Linked DNA regions of Homo sapiens: all the other regions are linked to region 1. The links are contacts of gene promoters, found by promoter capture Hi-C in human tissues and cell types (Jung and others, 2019). All regions are on one chromosome and are shown on one strand. Each heading gives the region's core, a stretch centred on a gene start or on the middle of the fragment in contact. The rest is flanking DNA. Distances are from core to core; before and after follow the strand shown.

Region 1 (2,990 bases), core at 231-2,730:
GGCTAGGGAGTCTGGGGCTTCATCCTGGAAGTGATGAGGAGAGTGTAAGTGCAGGGGTGAGGCAGCGTGAATGTGCATGAGTGTGCACGTTTGCAGGGCAGGAGGAGGAGGTGCTGAACCTTAATATGAGGAGGATCCTGCAGGAGTACCCCCCTCCCCAACCCCTGTCCCATCCCTAACCTTCCCCCTTCCAGTCAAGGGCATAGCTTCCTCACCCTCTCCCTCCCTCCAGTTCAAAGGTTCCTTAGTGACAGGCTGTGCCTAATGTACAGATGGGGAAACTGAGGCCCAGGAACAATGGGAGGGTCCAGAGACCCTTGTGTAGAACTTGTGCAGGGCTCAGACCCAGACTTCTGGCTCCAGCCCACCAGGTTCACCTAGCTAGATGGCTCAGAGAGGGTGGGCAACTCACCTGAGGCACAGAGCAAGATCCTGACGGGCCCTGCCTCACAGCTGTCCTCAGGCAGCCCTGATGCTCACCACGGGGTGCGGTGGGGTGGGGCAGGGTGAGGACAGAACTGGCCAGTCACGGCGTGCCCAGGTGAGTCAGCGGCTGCCCCTGTGGCGCTCTAACCAGTAGCCAGACCTGGTCTCTCCTCTGCATTCCTGGCCTCTGTCCACGCTAGGTCCCTCCCGGGCAGGGTCACTGGGGCCTTCCCTGTCCTCTCCCAGGCCTGGCTCCTTAGGCCCCTGACACACCTTGTCGTGACACTCACTCACTCTGGTATTTCCTGGTCTGAACAGGCAGGGAAGTTCTGCCTGCTGTGGAGGCTTTTTCATGGGCTGCCGTGGCAGCCCCTTCGTTGTCTGGTGCCCAGTGGGGGAGAGTAGAGACACGCACTGCCCCAGGGAGGGGGCGCTGAACTGTCACACCTGATCCCTCAGTCTCATGCTCGCCTCTCCCCGCTGCACCCTTCCTCGGCCCCACCATGGCTACAAGCCTCTTGTCCTAGACAAGCACCCCTCCCTGCTGTCGCATATGTCCCAGCTTCCCTTCCTCTCCCTGCCCAGGCACACACTCAGTCGCTGGAGTTTCCCAGACCCGAGCTCCTGTTCCGGCCGCCAGGCATTTGCCATGCCGCTCCCATGCGAAAAGGCCACCTCCTGGAATCCCGGGTCGGGCCCTTCCGCCCTAACCAGCCGGCGTCACCTCCTCCTGGCAGTCTCTCCTGCTGGCTGGGGCCCCGTGGCCCTGCCACCACGGCTCAGGTCAGGCCCGGGGCGCTGCCCCGAACCCAAGCAGGCTAGCAGCCAGGCAGGGAGGACGACGCTGTGAGCGGGGTATCTTACGAGGGACTCGGACGGCCGGGGGATGACTGCCGCCGGGACCAAGGAGCTGGGCGGGGACCGCAGCAGCCGAGGAGGCGGGAGCCCCCACCTGGACGAGCTAAGCGTGGAGCGCAGACACCCGTCCGCAGACGCGCGCCCTTCGTCGCGCCCTTACCTGAGCGCTGTGGTTGCCCCGCGCCGGGACTGCCTGTGCGGCTCCTCGCTCGCACCCCCACCCTGCCCCCTGCCAGTCCCGCCCCCTGCCAGCCCCGCCCCCTTCGCCCAGCCCCGCCCCGCCCCGCCTCCGGGTGTTGCTCTGGAGTTGCGGGGGCCACGGGCGGGCCACCGAGGAGCTGGCGCGCGGTATTGATCCGTCCCGCCGCCCCAAGCCTCTCCTGAGGCCTCCCTCTGGCGTCCCCCGGGATCCGGAGGCCCCTGGGACCCGGCGCGGGGAGGAAAAGTGGGAGTCTTGACCCCTCCGCCCCCTACGCACCCACGCGCACACTCAGGCTCGCCTCTCGCGCCCCGCTTCCCCTGCAAGGCTCCGAGGCCGCCGTGCCACCACCTCGCCCCGCCAGTCAGTCGCTCTGCGAGCCTGTGGTGCAGCCCCGTGACCTCCCGGGTCTGCCCTGAGTCACAGAAGCCAGCACACGCGGAGCGCTGTGTGGGTTCGTGGAACTTGGAGCCTGTAGAGGGGTATACTGAGGCGCCCTGCGGCCCCCTGGGCTGGGTGTCCACGGCCGGCCGCCCCTCCTGTGCGACCTTGGGGAAGTCCCCTTTCCTCCCCACTCCTGAGTCTCAACAGGCCTAGTAGAGCATGAAGCCGGCCGCGTGTGCTTTGTGCGAAGGCCTGAGACCTTGGAAAGGGTGGCTGAAGACTTATCTGGGACAGACCCCCCGGGAGCGGGAGGGAACTTAGTTCAAACCTGTAACAAAGAAGCCCCCCGTCAGCAGCCTGATTCCCCCTCTGGCCACCAGGTTAGTCACCCATTGCTCTCAGTGGCACTCAGGTTCCAGTGAGGGGGAGGCTCAGGGTCCAAGGCGGCCGTGGAAGAGCAGAAAGGGTGGCCCACCAGCCCCCTACTCAGCCCCCTACTGAGGAGGTGGGAGGCATCCCCCAACCTGCCAGGCTGAAGAGACCCCCAGTGGAGGTAAGTAGGGGCCTGGGGCCTGCCAAGCTCATCCCCTGGCTCCCTTGGGTTGTTGCGAGGTGGGAGTTTACTGTCTGCCAAGCTGCACATCACCCCTTGGAGGGTTTCCAGCCTGGGACCCTTGTCTGAGTGACTGCAGGTCCCAGTGACCTCACCCTTTTGCCCCACATTGCTCTCCTCCTGGGTCCCAATCCTGCAGAGCCGCCCCTTCCTGCTTCTCCATCCCTCCCCACATTGCCAAAGCCCGCCCTAGCTCTGGCCTCCCCTTTTCCAGCCTTGTTTTCTTGCCCCCTTCTGCACCCCCTGCTGCCTGAGGGGCTCCACTCCCAAAGGCCTTGCTCCTCTGGTCCCTGCCTGCTAGAGGTGTTGCTGTGTTGGTGGGTGGGGGCTACCTCAAGGAGGCTTCTGGTGAGGTGTCCCTCTGGCCCTCTGGGAAAGCCTCCCCTCCCCATGCCCTCCACCCCCAGGCTCCGGACCTTGGCCCCCACTCCCCTTCACAGCCCTGTTGGCCTGCGGGACTGTCTGCTGGGGCACTTGGCTCCCTGAGTCTACAGCACAGCCTGGCAGAGC
Region 2 (2,990 bases), core at 261-2,760, 190 kb before region 1:
CTGGTATTGCTCCTGTGCAAATTAAAATTTGACCTAAGGCCTCCAGCAGGTCAGCAGGAAAGTGAAAGGAGACCCACACCCCTCCCTGAGCTCCCACTATCTCCCAGTATACAAAGGCCAGAGATGGCCTCCTCCCAGCAACACACGAGGGCCCAGTGCAGTATTCAGAAAGAGTTGACAGTGAGTGTCTAGGCTGGGAATTGACCCTGTTCCAAGGAGAGTGGCCTCTGGGTTGGAAGACTGAGGTGAGTGTATGGAGGGTCATGACAAAGCCACCCCCTAGGGGAAGGGAAGAGAGTACCAAGCCTGCCCTGGCTTTGCCAGATAAGGGATGGTAATGCAAGCTGGTATTTATGTTGATAAATATCTGTTTCCAGAGTGGGTAGGCCTGGGTGACAGTAGAGGGTGTTCCAAATAGATCCTGGAATTATGTTTGTCAAGCTTAAGCAGATGAGAGACCAGCATTGGCTTATGGGCCCTTCCCTGCACAGGCATACTGTCTAAGTCTGTTTACGTTGCTGTAAAGGAATAGCTGAGTCTGGGTAATTTACAAAGAAAAGAGGCTTGTTTCATTCACAGTTCTGCAGAGTGTACAAGTAGCATGGCACTAGCATCTGCTTCGAGTGAGGGCCTCAGGCTGTGTCTGCTCATGACAGGTGAAGGAGAGCCAGCACAAGTAGGGATCACATGGGGAAAGAGGAAGCAAGAGAGGTGCGGGGTGGTGCCGGGTTCTAACAACTGACTCTGGCAGGAACTAAGAGCTAGAACTCACTCATTACACCAAGGATGGCACCAAGCCATTCATGAAGGATTCGTCCCCATAATCCAAACATTTCCCATTAGGCCCCACCTCTAACACTGGGGGTCCAATTTCATCATGAAGTTTAAAAGGTCAAATATTCAAAATATAGCACGTTCCTAGCACCCTTCCACATAAACAGCTGCTCTTCATCCTCGGAATACCCACAGTGGCTGGGGCATTGTCCACAGCTGCTCAGAGCCCAAGGCCAGAAGCTTCTAGGACTTCTATTCCAGATTTTCTCCCCTGCACCCTCCCCCTTTCCCTGAAGTTGAGAGTCAGTGGGAGGAGCACAGAGAGAGAGGCTGAAAGAAAAGAAATAGTCAAAAGGGAGAATTTAAGAGGGCCCTTAAATCTAGGTAACCTTTGAGATGAGCAAAGTAATATTGAGAAACAAAACTGGTGGAGATGAGGGGAGACTGCCACAGTGTGAGTCTGCTGAGGAAGGAGCCAGTTAGGCTGAAAACATGGGTTCTCAGGGAGTGGTCTCCCTGGGGCCACCTGTGACTGAGGGGTAAGGCAGGATGCACCACTGAGGAGGGAGAGATATCCTGTTTAGTTTTTCTTTAAAGTTTATTATTTCTTATGGTATGTTTTTATAATGTATGCAAATATATTAGAATAATGGTATGCATAAGTATGCAGAGGATGCATGAATAACAAATACACACACATTTGGAATGCATGCTCAATTTTTTTTAACCCCATTGTCCAATCAAAAACACTGGGACTGAGGCCAGGCTTGGTGGCTCATGCCTGTAATCCCAGCATTTTGGGAGGCCGAGGCGGGAGGATCACGAGGTCGGGAGATCGAGACCATCCTGGCTAACACAGTGAAACCCCGTCTCTACTAAAAATACAAAAAAAAAAAATTAGCCAGGCATGATGGCGGGCACCTGTAGTCCCAGCTACACGGGAGGCTGAGGCAGGAGAACGGTGTGAACCTGGGAGGTGGAGCTTTTGGTGAGCCGAGATCACGCCACTGCACTCCAGCCTGGGCGACAGAGAGAGACTCCGTCTCAAAATAAAACAAAACAAAAAAGACAAACAACAATAACAACAACAACAACAACAAAAACATTGAGACTGACATTTTGGGCTGGATGATCACAAAAATAATAAAAATAATAAAAAAGAAATACTGAGGACTCCCATTCTAAAGGAGCAAATGTGGAAGTCTGTGGACAGATTCTTACCAGGTGTATTAGTCCATTCTCACGCTGCTATGAAGAAATACCCAAGACTGGGTAATTTATAAAGAAAAGAGGTTTAATTGACTCACAGTTCCACATGGCTGGAGAGGCCTCAGGAACACAATCATGGCAGAAGGCACCTCTTCACAGAGTGGCAAAAGAGAGAATGAGTGCCAAGCAAAGCGGGGAAAGTCCCTTATAAAACCATCAGATCTCGTGAGAACCCACTAACTATCACAAGAATAGCATGAGGGTAACCGCCCCCATGATTCAATTACCTCCCAGTGGGCCCCTCCCATGACTCGTGGGGATTATGAGAAATACAATTCAAGACGAAATTTGGGTGGGGACACTTTCAAACCATATCACCAGGACTCTGAAACCAAAGCAGTCTTTTGAACATGCTCTGTCTTGATTAATGACATTAATTTTAAGACTCCTTCTCACACCTTTTTTTAAAAAAACTAGAAATGTGAATCCTTCCATTTATGCAATGGAAATTAGTGTAATAGTCACTTACAGCCAATAACTTCTTTTCACTCACCCCATCCCCATCCTCTCCCCATCTGCCCCCCTCCATCGACTGGAGTTGTGCCTTGCCTGCATCCTAGTGCTCCCTCTAGGGCACATTGCATCCTCACATTGTCCTTCTGGAATGTCATTCTGGCAGTTCACATCTCCCACCTGTCCCCTCAAACCACACCTACAACCATGCCTTGGCTAATTTATCTTTCCCACTCCTAGGCTTTTGCTCACAAATTCCCTCTGCCTCTTCTTAGCTACTCATGAGACCATGTCCATCTTTTAATTCCCTACTGAAGTGACAGTATCCCTGCGGTGCCTCCTGTCATCCCTCTGGTGAGGGTTTCATTCCACTAGTGCTGGTTGTCCTTCTACGTAGCCCCTGTTCTATTCCACCCAGTTCTAGTGCTGACTGGCTTCCTAGTGAACCAGGAGTGTCTGAGGCAGGGCCCGGTTCTCCTCACCTTTCCCTGCTT
Region 3 (2,990 bases), core at 125-2,624, 130 kb before region 1:
TAGTAGTTCATGGGTGGGTTCTGAGACTGAGAAAGTAGTTCAAATGAGAGTCCATGTGTCAGTCCAGGGTAAGGAGGAGACCCTCCATCCAGGGGAGAAACCACACTGGGGAGCCCATAGGACACAGTTGTCAGGGACAGACACAGGTGCCAGTCCCTCAGCAGCTCAGGGGAGAGATCTCCTCACAAATTTACAAAGCTAATCTCTTCTTTGTAAAATAAACTCTAGTCAACACAATCTTTCAGGCAAAGACATAGAATGCAATGTCCTAAGCATTAACTTTCTTTAGGACTATAGAAATGTCATCATCATCATATGCTACCCCAACACAGAAAAGGGAAAAATTAACCTCTACGGGATCCAGTCAAGAGACCCTCAATACAAACAAAGCAATATCCTCTTATAGGAAACTTTACAACGAAGTAGATTCTACAAAGCAGCCTAAGTGTAAAGCTTCAGCCTGGACCCTCGTTGAATTTGACAGCAAAGTGTCATGGTTCCAAGACAGCATCTGATTCCGGTTCCCTGCTGTGGGTCTGGTTTTGTGTGGTTGTAGCAGAATTATGAGAACAAGCCTCCCTCAATTTGGGCTACACTGTCCACAGTCACAGAGCATCTTCCAGAGAAGAAAACACCTGCAATGATGAGACAGAAGGAGAACGGTGGCATCTCTCACTGTAAAGGAAAGAACACTGGGGCCACAAAGTGTCATCAGCCATGTTCCTCTCCAGTCCAAGGACTCCCAGACACTTAGTGTTCCAGCTCCTGAGTGAAAATGTTAACCATCAGCACACTCTCAAAGGTTAGATTAAGGAAAATAATGCCTGGAAAATCTTTTGTTTTAGTACAGGGCTGAGAAAACTTGATGGTAAATAATAGAGGTTTCCCAGGCCAATAAGCAAAATTGAAGATATATGTAGGCGTTTACATAACAAAGGAGAACCCTCTGGCGAGCCTCTCCCTGCTTGCCCCCAGAGAACCATCCGGAGTAGTTAGCATGTTTCATGTCCAGCTGCTGCTTGCCAAAAACATTCTCAGAACAAGAGGGACTAGCCCAAGAGGGAAAGGGCTAGTAGGTATGGTGAAAAAGGGGCAGGGTGGCTGGGTGCAGTGGCTCCCACCTGTAATCACAGCACTTTGGGAGGCTGAGGTGGGTGGATTGCTTAAGCTCAGGAGTTTGAGAGCAGCCTGGGCAACATGGCAAAACCCTGTCTTTACCAAAAATAAAAAATAAAATGAATAAATAAAATAGCTGGGTGGTGGCATGCATCTGTGGTCCCAGCTACTAAGGAGGTTGATGTGAGAGGATCACTTGGGCCTGGGAGGCAGATGTTGCAGTGAGCTGAGATTGCATCAGTGCACTCCAGCCTGGGTCTCAAAAAAACAAAAAGAGAGGGGAGAGGTTGGCAGGGGAAGGGGCCGGGGAGTGAGCCTGCTGCAGTCCATTTCTTTCTCTGCCCCAGTATCACCCAGACAGGTGCCTGTGTGTCCTTCTCTCCTCCCGTCATCACAAGTTGGATAGCTGGCTGGAAGCAAGGTGACCTACTCAGTCACCAGCTCCTGAACTGAGATTCCATTGCTTGGTTGCTAACAATAGAGTCTCCAATGTGTAGATGGCAACCAGGGTGGGCCCTGGACTGCAGCAAGGTACAGCTGGCCAGGTGGACAGGAGCTGAGAGCAGTGGGGGAGTAGAAACAGAAGAAAATACCCCAGCTTGGTCCCCAGATGCTCCAGCAGTGCCCACATTCCATATGTAAACAGGTGCCAGGCCTGCAGGTTATAGTTTACTGATCCTAGCTTTAGTGGACAATAAAATGTAAAATATTTTGCTTTGGTGGATGTGATGGTTTTAAACTATATCCACAAAGTCTTTCACATTCTTCCCTTTAAAAAGGTAGAACTTAATTCCTCCCCCCTTGAGCATGGGCTAGACTTAGTGACTCACTTCTAATGACTAGAATGTGGTGAAAGTAATGGTGTGTGGCTTCTGAGACTAGGTCTTCACTCTCTGTCAGATCACTCACTCTAGGAAGTCAGCTGCCATGTCATGATGATGCTCAAGCAGCCTTGTGGAAAAGCTTCACAAGGAGAGGAACTGAGGCCTCCTGTCAACAGCCATGAGAGGGGGCTGTCTTAAAAGCAGATCCTCCATCCCCAGTCAAGCCTTCAGATGACGGCAGCCCCTGTGGACATCTTGACCACAACTTCATGAGACCCTAAGCCAGAAACACTCAGCTAAACTGCCCTGGATTTCTGACTCTCAGAAACTGTGAGATAATAAATGTGTGTTATTCTAAACTAACAGTCTAGAATAAACTGTTATGCAGCAATAAATAACCAAGACAGTGGATTTTTATAAAAGACACTTTAAAAATCAGTCTTAACTTCTGGTGCCATCTGGTGTGCATGTTCAGCTGCCTCCTTGAATATGCACTTGGATGTCTCACACATATCTCAAAGAAACATGATGTTCTCCAAACTTGCTCCTTTAGAGTTTGTCCATCCTAGGCCTCCTTTAATTCCACACCTCAGGAATGACTCCATCATAATCTAGAAGATCTAGAAGTTACTTCTTTTTTTTTTTTTTTGAGATGAAGTCTCACTCTGTCACCCAGGCTGGAGTGCAGTGGCACAATCTCAGCTCACTGCAAACTTCACTTCCTGGGTTCAAGCAATTCTTCCTCAGCCTCCTGAGTAGCTGGGATTACAGGCAAAAGCCACCATATCCGGCTAATTTTTGTATTTTTAGTAGAGATAGGGTTTCACCATGTTGACCAGGCTAGTCTCAAACTCCTGACCTCAGGTGATCTGCCCGCCTCGGCATCCCAAAGTGCTGAGATTACAGGTATGAGCCACTGTACTCGGCCAGAAGTCACTTCTTTTGCTTCGTTTCCTCACTCTGCCCACCCACTATGCAGATAGTATGCACACACACACATGCATGCACACACACACACATTCATCCACACCTCCAGTTATCACCTACATC

What was found. The method cuts DNA at HindIII sites, captures the fragments that hold promoters and counts their contacts. A contact is called where the count stands out against the background at its distance.
Region 2: a fragment that was not itself captured here is called in contact with the fragment with the promoter of ALS2CL in region 1 in 2 of the 25 tissues and cell types used here (mesendoderm cells and spleen).
Region 3: a contact is called between a fragment that was not itself captured here and the fragment with the promoter of ALS2CL in region 1, in 2 of the 25 tissues and cell types used here (liver and spleen).

Annotation. Positions count from the first base shown.
Region 1 is chr3:46,692,199-46,695,188 of GRCh38, forward strand. It overlaps ALS2CL (ALS2 C-terminal like), which reads right to left and starts at 1,481. Exons shown (of 26, transcript NM_147129.5): 1 at 1,445-1,481. It also overlaps a transcript of TMIE not described here. RefSeq lists enhancers at 45-836, 2,418-2,990 and silencers at 1,281-1,575, 1,306-1,555, 1,706-1,785. The HindIII fragment of the contact is 18,920 bases long and covers 1-2,990 here.
Region 2 is chr3:46,502,756-46,505,745 of GRCh38, forward strand. No RefSeq gene overlaps it. Among named protein-coding and RNA genes, the nearest start is that of RTP3, 6.3 kb to the left of the region's middle. The HindIII fragment of the contact is 6,994 bases long and covers 1-2,990 here.
Region 3 is chr3:46,560,158-46,563,147 of GRCh38, forward strand. The region is part of intron 1 of LRRC2 (leucine rich repeat containing 2); the gene reads right to left. Among named protein-coding and RNA genes, the nearest start is that of LRRC2-AS1, 4.3 kb to the left of the region's middle. RefSeq lists an enhancer at 2,760-2,990. The HindIII fragment of the contact is 5,010 bases long and covers 1-2,990 here.